6 separate regions of the Homo sapiens genome follow, and all the other regions are linked to region 1. The links are contacts of gene promoters, found by promoter capture Hi-C in human tissues and cell types (Jung and others, 2019). All regions are on one chromosome and are shown on one strand. Each heading gives the region's core, a stretch centred on a gene start or on the middle of the fragment in contact. The rest is flanking DNA. Distances are from core to core; before and after follow the strand shown.

Region 1 (2,850 bases), core at 319-2,818:
GCCCCACCAGCTGAGAAATTAATCATTAATTGAAGGAAAAAACACTGTTTCCCCATTATCGAGCTTTTCTTTCAGCTTCTAGGCCTGCCCCTTCCGCTTTCTGAAATGCAAAGGAGGTAGAGATTGAGGCAGAAAGTAAATAAGATTTGAATATTGCCTTTCCTGGAGTTTTCTAGTTCATTGTTTTCTGGAGCAAATATTTTCAAAAACAAGAAACTGACACACTGTGGTCAAAACAGAATTCTAGATAAGCTACAATTATGTGAAAATTAAGGTATTTAAGTAAATAGCTGCAAACTTTTTAAAACTTAGACTGAAAGAACGAGTTCTTAAAAGATTTTCAGCCAAAAAAAAAAAAAAAAACCTTGAACCCGTATTCAGTACTAGTGCTGAAAAGATTCCAAACCTCATATGACAGAATATTTTTTTTTCCTTAGTGTGAAGATGTCTATCAATGGCTAGGGCCACCTATCTGTCACAAAGCTTTGGAACTCCTCTAGGTGTTGGAATGTGACACCAGAAATCACAATTAGTGCATAATTAATCACATTACTTTGCCACCTACACGGAAGGGCACAGACCGGCAGCCTTTCAAGGGCAGTGTATGTAAATGTAGTTTCAATATGCAAATTCTCCTAATTATTTCCGATTAATACGATCATTATAATAGCCCTGCCTCCTTCTTGAAAAGGAACCCTGAAAGCGCCCTGCCTGTGAGAGCTCCTTAGCGACCGGTGAGGTTGGGCATGGTTTGCAATAAGTACTCATTTTCTTGAGTTTACAGTAATGCCTCCCGCGCTGCTCCGGGTTGCAAAAGCCCACACTAAGCCTGTCGTCGAATGCGTGCGTGGGTGGTTTGTTTGTGTTAACATAACTTTTCCTTATCTGAAGAGACGAACTCACTCTACAAACGTGACTCTTCAGTGACAACCTAATTTGCGTTTTCACTTTCTTCTGAAATGCTTTCTATCTTTCCTCACGCTCTCCCTCCGATGGGTTGCAGTGAACTGTGGCTTCCCCCCTGCGGTGCTGAACTCGCCCGTGTAGCTGTGATTTTAGAGCTGCCGACAGCTCTAAGGTGTGTAGGGCTTGGTCTGGGAACACCCCCAGGGCAAGGGTCCCGCCGCGCGCTTGGAATTAGAATTAAGAATGCATATTTAGGCGCCCAGGGTCTGCCCCCTTCTCCCTCCTCCTTCCCCTCCCCCTTCCCCTCCCCCTTCCCCTCCCCCATCTTCCCTTCTCTTCCTCCTCCCTCCTCCTCTCCCTCCTCCCGCCTCCCTCCTCCCCGCCCCCCGCCCGCCGCTCCCCGCCCCCCGCCCCCCGCCAGCCCCGCACTTACTGTACTGTACTCTATTTACCACCCCAGCTGGGCTCGCGCCCCGCCCACCCCGCGGGGATTGGCTGCGAACGCGGAAGAACCAAGCCCACGCCCCGCGCCCGCGCCCACCAATGGAAGCGCCCGCTCGTCTTGATAGACGTGCCACCTTCCGCCAATGGGGACGAAGGGAAGCTCCAGCGTGTGGCCCCGGCGAGTGCGGATAAAAGCCGCCCCGCCGGGCTCGGGCTTCATTCTGAGCCGAGCCCGGTGCCAAGCGCAGCTAGCTCAGCAGGCGGCAGCGGCGGCCTGAGCTTCAGGGCAGCCAGCTCCCTCCCGGTCTCGCCTTCCCTCGCGGTCAGCATGAAAGCCTTCAGTCCCGTGAGGTCCGTTAGGAAAAACAGCCTGTCGGACCACAGCCTGGGCATCTCCCGGAGCAAAACCCCTGTGGACGACCCGATGAGCCTGCTATACAACATGAACGACTGCTACTCCAAGCTCAAGGAGCTGGTGCCCAGCATCCCCCAGAACAAGAAGGTGAGCAAGATGGAAATCCTGCAGCACGTCATCGACTACATCTTGGACCTGCAGATCGCCCTGGACTCGCATCCCACTATTGTCAGCCTGCATCACCAGAGACCCGGGCAGAACCAGGCGTCCAGGACGCCGCTGACCACCCTCAACACGGATATCAGCATCCTGTCCTTGCAGGTAAGACCTGCTCCGGGGTCCCCGCCCCGCCGCCGCACACTCCCGCGGTCGTCTGGGCTGTCACTAGGAGATCCGTAGCCCAGACGGTGACTTTCGTATGAGCTATTTAACTTTATTTTCTTCAGAATCTGCTGTAGATTGAGCTGTGCGTGAAATTGCTAGTAAGTTCTGACATGTTAATGCGTCTGTCTTTAAATCTGAATTGTTACCATAAACGTGTTTAATGGAACTTGCTGGTCTGTGGACTACAAAAAAAAAAAAAAAAAAAAAAAAACCCTTTCTACTTAACATTGTCTTAACCTCGTACTCTTTATCCTCTTTCTTTCCAGGCTTCTGAATTCCCTTCTGAGTTAATGTCAAATGACAGCAAAGCACTGTGTGGCTGAATAAGCGGTGAGTGTTTGCTTGTGCCACCCGTGGGTAAACTGCCCCTCGGTGTGTGTGCGCGCGCGCGCATGTGTTTTTGCTTGTGTATCTATAAAATGTCTGATTTGGTAAATGCATGCTTACTTCGCGGTGTTACCCGTACTACATTGTCTCACTAGACATGAAGGAGCTTGTAGCTTTGGGTGCTCGAGATCACAGAACATTTTCCTTTAAAAGGAAATGATGCCAATAACTTACTACGAAGGCGGCCGAGGAACGTGTGTATTGGCTTTGTAGCAAATGTAATGCCCTGGATCTTCCTACGAGTCCTCTGGTACTATGAGGTACTAACCTCCACTGTAATTAATCTTACCGCCACAAATTCCATAGTGATCCTCCTTCCCTAAAACTATAGTCCTCTGGGATTCTCTGGGCTAGTTGAGGATTGCTACCCTGTG
Region 2 (2,990 bases), core at 274-2,773, 1.5 Mb before region 1:
ATAACAAAATTACAAAGTGGTGTGAGACTGAAATTGTGAATACTGAACCATTGCTCTTGGGGAAAAACAGGATTAGGCACCTGTGAGCCTCCAGTCATGTGATCATCAACCAACCAATACACAACCTTGTTTTATGTATAGTTCTGTTTAAAGACACCTTATTTATGACATATTGTTGATTAATTGAAATTGAACTCACAACCAATTGCATGATAACTTGGCCTGAATTAAGCTTATCTAAAACCGACATATTTTTTCCATAAGGCACATCATAGTCTTCTTGCACGTAGGTACACAAGACAGATCTTCAGAACTATGCGTAGAGGTCATTTTAAACAGCAAAATCACCAGCAAAAGATGTAGCATACATAGACCTTAAAAGGGACACTTATTTAGAGTCTGAGAGCTGAAACAAGAAGGCAGAGTGTTGCCTTGTTCAGTCTCAGCTGGGAACTTGTGCTTTGGATGATTCAAATATTTTGCTTCTCTGCCCACATTGTAAATGACTACAAAAGTGCCAATAGCATTGATTTGGGGGTTAAAATAAATTTTAGGAGAGAACTCGCAAATACAGAATCCATGTATAATGAGGATTGACCGTACTTAAAAGTTATATGTTACAGCAGCATAGACAGAAATTAGACTGGAAATCACCACATGGGTCTTCGCCATGATTCTTTTCCTAAATTGTTGAGTGGCCTGGGATTAGTTACAATTCTCCTGTGCCTCTCCTTCCTTAATTGTTAAAAAAAAGGCATTGCTAGTGAGATTTTTATTCATGGAGAATTGTAATGCTTGTACTTTCACCAACAGACAAAAATGTAATTGAAGTGCAGCCTTAGAAAAAGGGGTTACATAATAATATATAAAGGGACTTCAAAAAGTTTATGAAAAATGGAATTAAAAGATAAAATTTTTAAAATATAAACTTTATTTCTTAACATAAGCTCCATTATGGTCAAGACAGTTTTATAAGTGATGATACCAGCAATTTAGTTCATCCCTAAAAAAACTGAGGGTCCTGGAAATTTAGATTTAGCAATGAAGTCTTTTTTACATTTTCAATGAAAGAAAAATGGCTTTCCTTTATAGATTTTTTTTATGATTAGAAAACAAAAAAGAGTCAAAACTGGCCAAATCAGGACTGTAAGGTGGATACCTAATAATTTTTATGGAAACTCTTAGAAAATTACCTTTGTTTTGTGAGAGAAATGACCATGAGCATTGTGATGGTTGAGAGGGACTCTCTGGTGAAGCTTTCCCAGGTGTTTTTCTGCTAAAGGTTTGGCTAACTTTCTGAAAACACTCTGATAATCAGCAGATATTATCATTGCTTGGTCCTCCAGAAAGTCAACAAGGAAAATGACTTGAGAATTTCAAAAAAGTTTTTCCATGACTCTTGTTCTTAACTTGTTTATTTTTGGTTTGATTGGGCCACCTACACCTCTTGGTAGCCATTGCTCTGATTGTGCATTGTCTTCAGCATGGTACTGGTAAAGCTGTGTTTTATCTCCCATAAGTATTCTTCAAAAATATGCTCAGGGCCAGTACAGTGGCTCACACCTGTAATCCCAGCGCTTTGGGAGGCCAAGGTGGGTGGATCATGAGGTCAGGAGATCAAGACCATCCTGGCCAACATGGTGAAACCCCATATCTACTAAAAATACAAAAATTAGCTGGGTATGGTGGCACGTGCCTGTAATCCAGCTACTTGGGAGGCTGAGGCAGGAGAATCATTTGAACCAGGGAATTGGAGTTTGCAGTGAGCTGAGATGGCACCACTGCACTCCAGACTGGCAATAGAATGAGACTCAGTCTCAAAAAAATAAAAAAATAGAAAAAAATAAACGAAAAAAAAAAAGCTCAGGATCTTAATCTCACCATTTAAAAAAATGCCTATTGAGAGCTCTGTACTTGTCTCTAGCTAATCTGTGTGCAATGATTTTGACACCCATTACATGAAATTTTGCTCAACTTTAATTTTTTAGTCAGAGTTGTCTAAGCTGAACTATTTGAGATGTCTATGGTGTTTGCTATTCCTTATGCTATTAATCACCAGTTCTCTTTAATTAGGGCACAAACAAAATTAATATTTATTCTCATAAATGATGGGGATGGTCTACTGCTATGGGCTTCATCTTCAACATCATCTTATCTCATCTTAAAATGAGTTATCTATATGTAAACTGCTGATTTCTTTTTGAAATTGTCCCCACAAAACTCATAAAGCATCAATAATTTCCCATTCTTTCACCCAAGTTTTACCACATATTTGATGTTTATTCTTGCTTTAATTTTAGAATTCCTGTTGCTCTGATAGGGGTTCTTTTCAAACTGGTGTTTTTGTCTTTCTTAGTACCTCAAACTAGATCCTGTTCAGATGCACTATAAGTTAGTCAAAGTTTATTTTGGTGCAAAAATTTTTTAAATTCATGCATAGCTTTTTCATGGCGTGCATTCTTCATGAACATTTTGAAATATCCTCATATTTGTGAAAAGTTTTTCCTCAGGAGATGGTACTTTTGATTATGGTCAGGTAATCGCTAAGTTTTAAAGGCAAACATCACTAAATGTTTTGATGTCCTTTTGCCCAGAAAAAGTATAGCTTGACTGGGTGGGTTTTCTAAATAGCATTCCTAAGATGATGGATTAGTAATATTCTCTCCACTAGAAACAAATGAAATTTGAGCAGACATGAGAATAACTACCACATCCTACATTATATGAACCCCAAATTTATTGCATCAGTGACATATACGTCAGCTGTCTTTGGCAACAAAATTGAGACTTTTAGGAGAGTTTTGTTATTGTTGTTTTAAAGTTTATGTCAAACATCTAGAACCATGTCTGCTTTTGTAGGAGTATGCATGGATGTTCTAACACCCAGGTTTTACAGAACTGAGGCAGCATGAGGAATCTTATATTCATCCCATGTCATTGCCCAACATTCTCTAGGACCTTGCTGTGCAGCAGCAGAGGCACCATCTGGG
Region 3 (3,015 bases), core at 77-2,576, 1.1 Mb before region 1:
GTTGTCCATTTGTATATCTTTTTTTGAGAATTGTCTATTTATGTCCTTAGCCCACTTTTTGATCAGATTGATTTATTTTCTTACTGATTTGTTTGAATTCTTTGTAGATTCTGGATATTCGTCCTTTGTCAGATATATAGACTGTGAAGATTTTCTCCCACTCTGTATGTTGTCTTTTAACTGCTGATTATTTATTTTGCTGTGCAGAAGCTTTTTTGTTAATTAAGTCCCATCTATTTATCTTTGTTTTTGTTGTATTTGCTTTTGGGTTCTGTGTCACAAAGTCTTTGCCTAAGCAATGTCTGGGCGGGGTGGGGGTGGGGTTTCTGATGTTATCTTCTAGAATTTTTATGGTTTCTGGTCTTAGATTTAAGTCTTTGATCTATCTTGAGTTGATTTTTGTATAAGGTGAGAGATGAGGATCAAGTTTCATTCTTCTGCATGTGGCTTGCCAATTATCCCAGCGCCATTTGTTCAATAGGGTGTCCTTTCATTCTTTATGTTTTTGTTGGCTTTGTCAAAGATCAGCTGGCTGTAACTATCTGGCTTTATTTTTGGATTATCTATTCTGTTTCTTGGTCTATGTGCCTCTTTTTATACCAGTACCATGTTGTTTGGGTGACTATGGCCTTAAAGTATAGTTTGAAGTCAGGTAATGTGATGCCTCCAGATTTGTTCTTTTTCCTTAGTCTTGCTTGTTTCGCAGGCTCTTTTTTCATTTTATACGAATGTTAAGATTGTTTTTTTCTAGTACTGTGAAGAATGATGGTGGTATTTTGATGGGAATTGTATTGAATTGGTAGATTGCTTTGGCAGTATGGTCATTTTCACAATATTGATTCTACCCTTCCATGAGCATGGAAGGTGTTTCCGTTTGTTTGTGTTGTCTATGATTTCTTTCAGCAGTGTTTTGTAGCTTTCCTTGTAGAGGTCTTTCACCTCCTTGGTTAGGTATATTCCTAAGTATTTTATTTTTTGTTGCAGCTATTGTAACACAGGTTGAGTTTTTGATTTGATTCTCAGCTTTGTCACTGCTGGTGTATAGCAGAGCTACTGATTTGTGTACATTGATTTTGTATCCTGAAACTTTGCTTAATTCATTTACCAGTTCTAGGAGCTTTTTGAGTGAGTCTTGAGGGTTTTCTAGGTATACAATCATGTCATCAGCAAAGAGCAGCAGTTTGATTTCCTCTTTACCAGTTTGGATGCCCTTGATTTTTTTCTCTTGTCTGATTGCTCTGGCTAGAACTTCCAGTACCATGTTGAATAGAAGCAGTGAAAGTGGACACACTTTTCTTGTTCCAGTTCTCAGGGGGAATGCTTTCAACTTTCTCCTGTTCAGTATAATGTTGGCTGTGGGTTTGTCATAGATGGCTTTTATTACCTTAAGGTATGTCCCTTCCATTCAGATTTTGCTGAAAGTTTTAATCATAAAAGGATGCTGGATTTTGTCAAAGGTGTTTTCTGCATCTATTGAGATGATCATGTGATTTATGTTTTTAATTCTGTTTATGTGGTGTATAACATTTATTGACTTGTGGTTGTTAAACCATTTCCACATCACTGGTATGAAACCCACTTGATCATGGTGGATTTTCTTTTTGATGATATGCTGTTGGACTCAGTTAGCTAGTATTTTTTGAGGATTTTTGCATCTATGTTTAACAGGGGTATTGGCCTACAGTTTATTTTTTTGTTATGTCCTTCCCTGGTTTTGGAATTAGGGTAATATTGGTTTCATAGAATGATTTAGGGAGAATTCCCTCCTTCTCTTTTCTGTAGAATAGTGTCAGTAGGATTGGGACCACTTCTTCTTTGAATGTCTGATAGAATTTAGCTATGACTCTGTCTTGTCCTGGACTTTTTTTGTTGACAATTTTTAAATTCCCATTTCAATCTTGCTGCTTGTTATTGGTCTGTTCAGAGTTTCTATATCTTTCTGGCTTAATGTAGGAGGGTTGTGTATTTCCAGGAATCTATCCATCTCCTCTAGATTTTCTAGTTTGTGCATGTAAAGGTGTTTACAGTAGCCTTGAATAACCTTTTGTATTTCTTTGGTATCAGTAGTAATATCTCTTATTTCATTTCTAGTTGAGCTTATTTGGATCTTTTCTTTTCTTGGTTAATCTTACTAACGGTCTATCAATTTATCTTTTCAAAGAACCAGCTTTTTGTTTCATTTATCTTTTGTATTTTTTTGTTTCAATTACATTTAGTTCTGCTCTGATCTTTGTTATTCTTTTCTTCTGCTATGTTTGGGTTGGATTGTTCTTGTTTCTCCAGGTCTGTGAGGTGTGACCTTAGATTATCTATTTGTGCTCTTTCAGACTTTTTGATGTGGGCATTTAATGCTACGAATTTTCTTCTTAGCACTACTTTTGCTATATCTCAGAGGTTTTGGTAAGTTGTGTCACTATTATTGTTCAGTTCAAAGAATTTTTTAATTTTCATCTTTATTTCATTGTTGACCCAGTGATCATTCAGGAGCAAGTTATTTAATTTCTATGTGTTTGCATGGTTTTGAGGGTTCTTTTTGGATTTAATTTCCAATTTTATTCCACTGTGGTCTGAAAGAGTGCTTGATGTAATTTTGATTTTCTTAAATTTACTAAGAGTCATTTTCTGCCATATCATATGGTCTATCTTGGAGAATTTTCCATGTGCCGATGAGTAGAATGTATATTTTGCAGTTGTTGGCTAGAATATCCTGTAAATATCTGTTAAGTCCATTTTTTCTGGATATAGTTCAATTCCATTTTTTTTGTTAACTTTCTGTCTTGATGACATGTCTAGTGCTGTTAGTGGAGTATTAAAATCCCCCACTATTATTGTGTTGCCATCTCTCTCATTTCTTAAGTCTAGTAGTAATTTTTTTATAAATTTGAGAGCTTCAGTGTTAGATGCGTATATATTTAGTATTGTAATCATTTCCTATTGGACTAGTAGTTTTATTCTATAATGTCCCTCTTTGTCTTTTTAAACTGTTGTTGCTATAAAGTCTGTTTTGTCTGACAT
Region 4 (2,979 bases), core at 117-2,616, 1.3 Mb before region 1:
TAGACACTGCAAGAAAGTATAAATCACCCTGTCTATGCAAGAGTAAAACCAGTATTAAGCTAAATCATGTCTTCCAAAAATATATGTGAAAGTCTTAACCCCAGAAACTCAAAATGCAACCTTATTTGGAAACTAAGTCATGTTACAGATGTAATTAGTTAAGTTAAAATGAAGTCATCCTGGAGTGAGGTGGGCTCCTAATACAATAGAACAAGTGTCTTTATAAAAAGAAGAAAATGTGAAGGCAGGTGTCCACAGAGTGAAGACTATGTGAAGACAGCTATGTGGGGATAGAAGCTGAGATATGAGTTGTGTATCACAAGCCAAGGGAAGGCTGGGGCTACCAGTAGCTGGAAGAGACAAGGAAGGAGATTCCCTTAGAGGCTTCAGAGGGATTATGACCCTGCCAGTGCCCTGACTTGACTTCTAGCCTCCAACGCTGTGAGAGGAGCCATTCCTCTTATTTTATGCTACCCAGGATGTAGTACTTTGTTAGGGCAGCCCTTAGGAAACTAATGCAATGAGAGTTCCAGCAGAGTACAATAGCCTCTATGTAAATAGTGGTAAAACGTATCCTCGTTAATAAAATTACATTGTTCAGCCAACACATACTTATTCAACCTATATTCTTGCAGAGTTGCTCTATTCTTTTCTCTCCTTCTATCAATGCTAGTTTTCTTATTAGATGCTGGTCATTGTAGGCATACAACAATGAATCAAACATCTGTGTTTCTTCTCAAGGATTGCAGTCTGGCAGTGGAGTGAGTATAAGCCTCTATATAAACTCTGCTACATGTGGGAGTATGGACATCTCTCTCAAGAGGAGCATGGGAAGGAAGCGCAGCAGGGGCACCATCTAGGGACACTGCACGGGCTTCAGGAAAGCCATGACATTGGAGTTGCCGGTGGTGGTGGTTATGGTGGTGGTGATGGTGGTGGTGGTGGTGGTGGTGGTGGTGGTGGTGGTGGTGGTGGTGGTTCTGTGGAGACTGGGGAAGGTAGGTGAAGAACAGCTGTGGAAGTCAATGTCCCAAGACTATACCTGGAGGAGTTGGGGATGGCTTTATACATGGGGTGAGGCTTGAGAAAACATGGTGCTCATAAGGCCAAAAGACTTTGGTAGTGGTAGTATTGGCTCACGTTTCCTTTCAGATAGATTGAAAACCATGTGCAAAGGCAAAGGAGGTGAGAGAAAGCACTCAACCCCCAAGGAAAATAGGCCGAGGCCAGATCAAAAAGGTCTTTAGATATGACACCAAATGTCTCAACCTTCTTTCAGCTGATGGTGTGGTGAGCGGTTCCAACACAATACATGCTTTGGCAACTATTGTCACATGCAGACCATCTTGAGTCACATAACGTCTTGACTTTCTTAGATTCAAAATATTTTTATATCTTTTTTCTACTATGTATCCAAAGCACTTAGTTGAATAGTTTTATTTTATGCCTACTTCATGAATACTTGACTTCTAAGAAATAACTTTTCTTTCTCTAGCCTATTGTATTTACCCTACAGCCTAGCATAGATACACACCTAAAAATAATTTTTCTGGACTCAGCCTGGGAGTGAGGCTTAAATGGCAATTTATTCCTGCCTCCAGCTTATTAAAGAAATTCCCCAGTCCCCTATCGTCCCCTTCATCAATTTTGATAAGAGTCATCCAGATCCAGTGACTCAGGGACAAAACAATCACCACCTCAAGTGTTTCATTCAATCCTACAGACTAGAGCTCCAGGAAGACTGAATAGAGACACCCAGGAGAGCTTTCCTGGTTGACAGCACTCCCTGCCTATCGCCACACATTGATGCCAGGAGGGTGAGGTGAACTCACTTCAAGGCGAGAGGGCCGTTGAAGCTTCTGTTTGAAACCCTCTCAGACTCTGCCCTAAGCATCTCTTCCTCTGGCTGATTTTAATCTGTATCCTTTCCCTGCAATAAACCAAAGCCATGGGTGTAACTGTTCTGTGAGCCCTTCTAGTAAATTTTCAAAACTGAGGGTAGTTTGTGGATCCCCCCGCCAACCTTGAGGTTCATGTCAGAAGTAAGAGAGGTCTTGGGGACTGTATCCTCTAACTGTCTTGGGCAAACTCTATTCCTCTAAACTCTTTTTTTTTTTTTAACTTTTTACACTGATATTCTAGATTGTTTTTCAATCAGTAAAGCAAACCTGATAAAGAAGTTCTAAGAATCAGGCCCTTCATACCATTTATAGTGGAGGTTGCCTGGCATTCTGTGTATCATTCTAGTTCTTAGCATGCACAGCTATCTCCTCTGGATTCCATGAGGCAGGATTCATCTCAGTTCCCTCTAGCACAGTGGCTAACAGAGCAGGTACTCAGAAGTGCCTGTGACTAGAGTCACATATAAGACAGGGTCTGTTCTCAGGAGCTCAGCATGCACATGTGGAGACTTCACAGGAAAATGTAAGGACTTTCACATTGGTGGCATCTAGTTTCAAAGAGAATGGCGAGTGTCTCAGTCAGCTAGGGCTGCCATAGTAAAATTCCACACTTCTGTTGGCGTAAGCAACAGAAATGTACTTGCTCACAGTTCTGGAGACTGGAAGTCCAAGATCATAGTGCCAGCAAGGTCATGCTCTGGTGAAGCATCTCTTCCTGTCTTGTAAACAGACATCATATTGTGTGTGTTCACATGGCCTTTGCTTGGTGCATCTGCAGAGAAAGAGAGGGAGAGAAAGACAAAGAGATGGAGAGAGAGCTGTTTCTTATAAGGGCACTAATCCTATCATGGGAGCCTTACCCTCATGACCTCATCTCAACCTAATGACCCTCCCAAAGCCCTGTCTCTAACTACCATCGCATTGCGGGCTAGGGCTTCCACATAGGAATTTTGGGGGGACAAAATTCTATTTATAGCAGTGACTTAATCTGAGGTGACCCAAGCAGCTTTGAATAGGATTGGGCCTGGTGGACACAAGAGGAATGGAAAACAGGGTCTGAAGGTGTCGCTTGCAGGGT
Region 5 (3,116 bases), core at 416-2,915, 1.4 Mb before region 1:
GCAGGCCCTGCGGCGGGAATAACTGCCGGGAGGCACACATCTGAGTGAAGTGGCCACCGCTGTGCCAAAATCAGAGGGCAGAAGGTGTTCTTGGCTTCCACGATGATCTGGACTTCCAGGACCGGTTGGGGACTGAGAAGCATACTGAATTGCAAATGTCAGTGCCCAGGCAACATCCAGAGAGAGCAAAGGAAACTTATTCTTCCCTTTACCTCTTTACCTGCTTTCAGTTATACTATGTCAGGAAAAGGATTTTGAATGGGTTAGGTGATGGAAAATACAGCTAAAAAGAAACTAATGTGCCTAAAATCACAAAGTTTCAAGTTTAGCTTTTTCTTCAAATTTGGCATTATTGTTTTAGGAGTTTTCTTCTTTGTTTCCTTTCTAAGTATCTAAGAAGAGTGTCCTAAAGGAAATCTGTATGAGAATTTGGAATTCTTTCTTTATTCTATTCTAGATTTTATCAATGAAGTCAACATAAAATGAGTGTGTTCATTAATCTTTGAAAAATAAGAATTCCTTCTGAAATTTAAAAATTCCTGATCAATGACAGTGAAGGACACAAAAAGAGATACGGTCTTAGTATATTCCAGCTGCTACAGCAAAAATACTGGGTGGCTTATAAACTACAGAAATTTATTTCTCACAATTCTGGAGGCTAGAATTCCAAGATCTAGGTGCCGGCAGATTTGGTGTCTGGTGAGGGACCGCTTCCTGATTCATGAGTGGCTGCTTCTGGCTGTATCCTCACACGGTGGAGGAGGTAATGGTCTGTCCTGGGCATCTTTTATGAAAACACTAATTCTATTCATGAGGTTGTCATCCCCATGATCTAATCACTCCCTAAAGATCTCATCTTCTAATACCGTCACCTTGAGGGTCAGGATGTCAACCTATGAGTTTTGTAGGAACACGAACATTCAGACCCACTGTGATTTTTCAGTACAAGGTGGATCCCGCTGCCCTCTCCTCAGGAGCCTCTGATCGTGCCCACTCCTGACAAAGATGGCATGTTTGGTCCTCTATTCAATGATGTTTCTTACTGGGGACATTAGGAAGCCCTTACTATCACATTAAGAAGCCCTCACTATCACATTTTACCATTTCATATTAAACTCCGAATCTTTTAAAGTAGGTTTTAAAAGTCATCTATAAGGCCTGAGACAAGCTTTATAATGAAGCTTCCAGGGAAGGGGGGTATGCAAGAAATTGGATTACATCTTTTGGTGTTAAATTGTTTTGTCTCTTTTAGAACACTTGGAATTGAGTTGAATTCTCCAAGGCAAGGAAAATATTAATGTACACCTATTGGTGAATCCTGAAAAAAGAAAAAATAAAACAAATGATTTTAATCCTCACTTTTCATGTCTCTATAAAACATGTATCAAAGGATATAATTTATTTCCAGCTTTCATAAATTCATAGTTTTGTGGGGAAAAATCCGTTTGCTTTATGAAACTGCACAGTCCAAATTGAACCAATAACTAATATCCAGGTGTATTAAAGGGAAGTTATAAATTGCTTTCACTTTCTATATTCTTCAATGAATAGGGAAAATATGGATTAAACCACCTAAATATTTAGTGATGATGTAATTGGAGAGTTTAACTCATGGAGTGGAAATCAGAAATGCAATGTTGACATTTTTAGTAGTAATTCGCATTATAGGAAAGGAAGACATTCTTTTTTTTTTTTTTTTCTTGATAGGGTCTCACTCTGTTACTGAGGCTGCAGTGCAGTAGTGCAATCACAGCTCACTGCAGCCTTGACCTCCCCAGCCTCAGGTGATCCTCAGCCTCCCAAGTAGCTGAGACTACGGGTGCATGCCACCACACCTGGCTAATTTTTTGCAGAGATGGGGTTCCACCCTGTTGCTCAGGCTTGTCTTGAACTCCTGAGCTCATGCAGTCTGCCTGTCTCGGCCTCCAAAAATGCTGGGATTACAGGCATGAGTTACCATGCCTGGCCTCAGGAAGATGTATTCTTTAAGTTATAAGTGATGTAGGATTATGAAATAATATAAAAGTAAATAGACAAAGCAAAATAGAATAATATGAAAATACAATAGCTGCCATTTTTATAATTATCCCCAATTTACAGATGAGGAAACTGAGGCTTGAAGAGAATACTTAATTTGACTGATACCATAAAACTAGTAAGTAGAAGAACAAGAATTAGAAGCCAATTCTGTCTCCAATACCTGCGTTCTCACCACTACACATATTGCTTTCTCCTAAAGAAGCAATGGTGTCCCCTACCTGAGACAGGCAGTGCTAATTTGTCAATACCTGTAAGAAAGAAAAGAAGGGTCCTCAAAGCATATCAGAATATTCACATGAATGTTAGAATCATGAGATCACTGGCCGGATTCAGGCCAACCTAAAGAGTAAAGTTTTTAAAGAAAAAGTAGATCTATCTAAGAAAAAAAAATGTATAAACTTGGATTTTGAAGCTAGTTTTAAAAATGAATATCCAACAATTAATTACAATTTAAATTTGATTTGGGTGTGCTTCTCTAGTTACTGTGCCTGTAACTGCATCCTGAGGGGTTCACGAGCGCGCGAGGGCCTGACTATGCACCTGGCTCTGGCAGCCGGGAAGCTTTGGATAATTAAAGTGGATGCAGTCCATTTTCTAAGCAGGGTACTTTATGGGATCAGAGTTAAATTTCTATGCCAAATGGTAAAACTCTGAGGTCCAGCTCACTGTGAACAAGACCCTGTTGTCTCTAATCCTCAGTCGGCTAGCATAACCCATCTCCAGCGATCAGCTCCCTTAGAAGGTAAGCTGCCTCATGTCAGTTAGTGTGGTACCCAGAAGAGAAGCATCTTTTCCTCCACTGGCTTCTGTAGGCCGAGGAGGAACTGCAATGGTTGAAAGGGTCTCTAGAGATGCCTTCAGAAGTTGGGCACAAGGCAAATGAGGGGTTAAGAGCAAAGTTAAAAAAAAAGAAGACAATTTTATATATATATATATATATATATATACACACACACATAAATAAAATTATATAATCACAGCATCTGAATACATATGCAAAGATAATTACGTAATATTTTAATATATATTTATATATAATTTTAACATTATTATATTAAAATAATTATATATAATCA
Region 6 (2,748 bases), core at 66-2,565, 1.1 Mb before region 1:
CAATCTTCATCGCCAAGAAGAAAGTGTTTCTAACTGTTCCTATAGGCAGGCTTCTGCTCTGGAAATAGAAAGTGTCAGTCAGACACTAAATTCTCAGATTGATGTGGCAGCTGGAATTAGTGGCAGGAACTATGGGCTGAGAGTCAAATAACCTATGCAAGGACTCTTGTGTTTGCTCAAGCCTGGGCCCTCGGGGCCTGAGTGTCTTCAGCTCTCAAGTTAGGTGACCTCAAGACACCTTTGAGCACTAGGGTTCTTCTCAAGACTATAACATGTAGAAAAGTGGAAGAAACCCACTATTCTTACAGATTGTAGCATAAATCAGTTAAAAGTACCGGCTGGGTGTGGTGGCTCACGCCTGTAATCCCAGCACTTTGGTAGGCCGAGGCAGTTGGATCACGGGGGTCAGGAGTTTGAGACCAGCCTGACCAACATGGTGAAATCCTGTCTCTACTAAAAATACAAACAATTAACTGGGCGTGGTGGCACATGCTGGTAATTCCAGCTGCTCCAGAGGCTGAGGCAGGAGAATCGCTTGAACCTGGGAGGCAGAGGTTGCAGTGAGCCAAGATCGCACCATTGCATTCCAGCCTGGGTGACAGAGCGAGACTCCACCTAAAAAAAAAAAGAGGATGATTACTATCAAGGAGCTAACATGCAAAACACTCAGCCAGTAAAGACGTCACAATGATGTTCACAGTGAACAATCGAATAACAAAGCCACAGATTCCTTCTATTTTTTGGCTTTGCTCTTTTGACTGTGTGGCTTTTGTCCTCATAGTCACAAGATGGCTGCCATACCGCCAGGCATTGAAGGTGGAAGAAGAATTTAAAACCCTTCTTCTTGCAAGGCTTTGCATTCTACTTAGAGAAGAAGCCTTTCTCAGCAGATGTCCATTCATGTCTCAGAGGACACAGTTGTCCTATGTGGCTATTGCTAGCTCAAAACTGGAAATGAAAATCAAACATCAGATATGTGGCTTTCCTGTCTTTTTTTTTTTTTTTTTTTGAGATAGGGTCTTTCTCTGTCACTCGGGCTGGAGTGCAGTGGTGCAATCACAGCTCACAGCAGCTTTGGGCTCAAGCGATCCTCCTGCCTCAGCCTCCTGGGTAGCTGAGACTACAGGTATGTGCCACCAATTCTGGCTATTTTTAAAATATTTTTTTGTAGAGACAGGTCTCACCATATTGTCCAGGCTAGTCTCAAACTCCTGGGCTGAAGCGATCTTTCCTCCTTGGCCTCCCAAAGTGCTGGCATTACAGGCATGAGCTACTATGGCTGCTGCTTTCCTGACTTTATAAAAGAAGAAAGCAAGGGTAAAGAAGAACAGGAATGGGTGCTTGAGTGAGTCACCCTATGGTAATCTGCTACAAATATTTGTCTGAAGTTCTCATCTGAAATTCTTCAGTTAGGCAGCATGGTATTGTTCAAAGACCATGAGGTCTGTCATCAGACGGAACTGTTAGGACAATGCCTGTTATTTTAGTTATTATCTTTGAAACCTTGGGCAAGGTCTTAGAGTCTTTGGGCTTCAAGTTTCCTTATCTCTGAAAAAGTATAATAATACCAGTCTTCGTTTCTTGTGATAATTAAATGAGATAATAGGTAATAAGCTTAGGGCAATGCTTGCATTTAGCATGAATTCATAAAAATGAGTAACTCTGAGTTACGTTTTGTTCATAAGCAGGATGTGTCAATATCACACACACGTGTGCATGCATAACACAGAAAATCAGTAACATTTGAGCAAAACGTGAGGTCCAAATTATCAAATTCCTCCTCTGAGGACCACAAGCTATGTTCTGGATTTTTCATATTCTCTTGATCCTTGTGTGATGTGCACACCTCAAAGACCACCTAGAACGTCCCAGTGGCTGTGGCGACGAGGGCCTTGTGCATACAATGCAGGCATGTTGATTTCAACGGGAGTGAAGTCTTTCAAAGCAGACCCCAAGAGCTGGGTCAACAGCTCTTTCAAAGAACATCCTATGCCAGTAAGCCTTTAGCCTGTCCCACCATCGCTGGTCCCTGGACTGTTGTAATGGGCTCTTTGCTGACCTCCCCATCTCAGCTGCCCTGGTCTCTCCTTCTACAGGTGAGAGTGAGCCATTGACAATTAAATTAGGTCACAAAGTTCTTCTACTGAAGACCACCCTACAATGGCTTCCTCTCTCAGTTAAAACCCACGGCCTCACCAGTACCATAAGCCCCTCCTGCAGCCTGCCATGCACCCCAGCCTGAGTCCCACCACGCCTCCTGCTGCTGCTCTGCAGATTTTCTTCCTGATCCTCAAGCAAACCCAGCAAAGCCCTGCCTGAGATACTTGGTCTTGCTGTGCCCACCACCTGGATATGCACATGGGATCATGTGCCCATCGTTCAGGACTCTGCTCAAATATCCCCTCCTCAGAAATCTCCGTCATACCTTCTCACCACGTGACATCATACGTTTATCTGGTGGTCTGTGGGCTGCCCCATCTGCTAAAATGTAAGTCCTAGAAGGGCAGCAGCTGTGTCGTTTTTGTTCCCTTGTGTGAGCCCAGCATTGAGAATCATGTCGGACACGCAGAATACACCCAGGAAATCTTAAGTGAAGAAAAAGTAAATGAATAAGTAAAGAGATGAATCCATCACTCCCGGAGTAGTTCCTGATTTCCACATGCATTTCATTCCTGCTGATTTAGTTTCTTATGCGTGGTCCTGAAGAAGCCCAGGACTAACCCCTCTATCTGTGAAGCAGCAGAGTTA

Evidence for each region. Contacts are between HindIII fragments. The study calls those that stand out against the background at their distance.
Region 2: a contact is called between a fragment that was not itself captured here and the fragment with the promoter of ID2 in region 1, in 1 of the 25 tissues and cell types used here (aorta).
Region 3: a contact is called between a fragment that was not itself captured here and the fragment with the promoter of ID2 in region 1, in 1 of the 25 tissues and cell types used here (mesendoderm cells).
Region 4: a fragment that was not itself captured here is called in contact with the fragment with the promoter of ID2 in region 1 in 1 of the 25 tissues and cell types used here (dorsolateral prefrontal cortex).
Region 5: a fragment that was not itself captured here is called in contact with the fragment with the promoter of ID2 in region 1 in 1 of the 25 tissues and cell types used here (dorsolateral prefrontal cortex).
Region 6: a contact is called between a fragment that was not itself captured here and the fragment with the promoter of ID2 in region 1, in 1 of the 25 tissues and cell types used here (lymphoblastoid cells).

What each region holds. Positions count from the first base shown.
Region 1 is chr2:8,680,488-8,683,337 of GRCh38, forward strand. It overlaps ID2 (inhibitor of DNA binding 2), which reads left to right and starts at 1,569. Exons shown (of 3, transcript NM_002166.5): 1 at 1,569-2,026; 2 at 2,356-2,419. The coding sequence starts at 1,679. The coding sequence ends at 2,412. ID2-AS1 (ID2 antisense RNA 1) reads right to left here and starts at 1,376. Exons shown (of 4, transcript NR_110154.1): 1 at 1,340-1,376. RefSeq lists enhancers at 768-1,271, 1,759-1,808. The HindIII fragment of the contact is 9,558 bases long and covers 1-2,302 here.
Region 2 is chr2:7,220,944-7,223,933 of GRCh38, forward strand. No RefSeq gene overlaps it. Among named protein-coding and RNA genes, the nearest start is that of GRASLND, 300 kb to the left of the region's middle. The HindIII fragment of the contact is 7,264 bases long and covers 1-2,990 here.
Region 3 is chr2:7,534,772-7,537,786 of GRCh38, forward strand. No RefSeq gene overlaps it. Among named protein-coding and RNA genes, the nearest start is that of LINC01871, 190 kb to the right of the region's middle. The HindIII fragment of the contact is 4,711 bases long and covers 1-3,015 here.
Region 4 is chr2:7,379,162-7,382,140 of GRCh38, forward strand. LOC105373406 (a long non-coding RNA gene) reads left to right here and starts at 1,017. Exons shown (of 5, transcript XR_922747.2): 1 at 1,017-2,979. The HindIII fragment of the contact is 9,223 bases long and covers 1-2,979 here.
Region 5 is chr2:7,237,640-7,240,755 of GRCh38, forward strand. No RefSeq gene overlaps it. Among named protein-coding and RNA genes, the nearest start is that of GRASLND, 320 kb to the left of the region's middle. The HindIII fragment of the contact is 3,186 bases long and covers 73-3,116 here.
Region 6 is chr2:7,611,768-7,614,515 of GRCh38, forward strand. No RefSeq gene overlaps it. Among named protein-coding and RNA genes, the nearest start is that of LINC01871, 110 kb to the right of the region's middle. The HindIII fragment of the contact is 3,212 bases long and covers 1-2,748 here.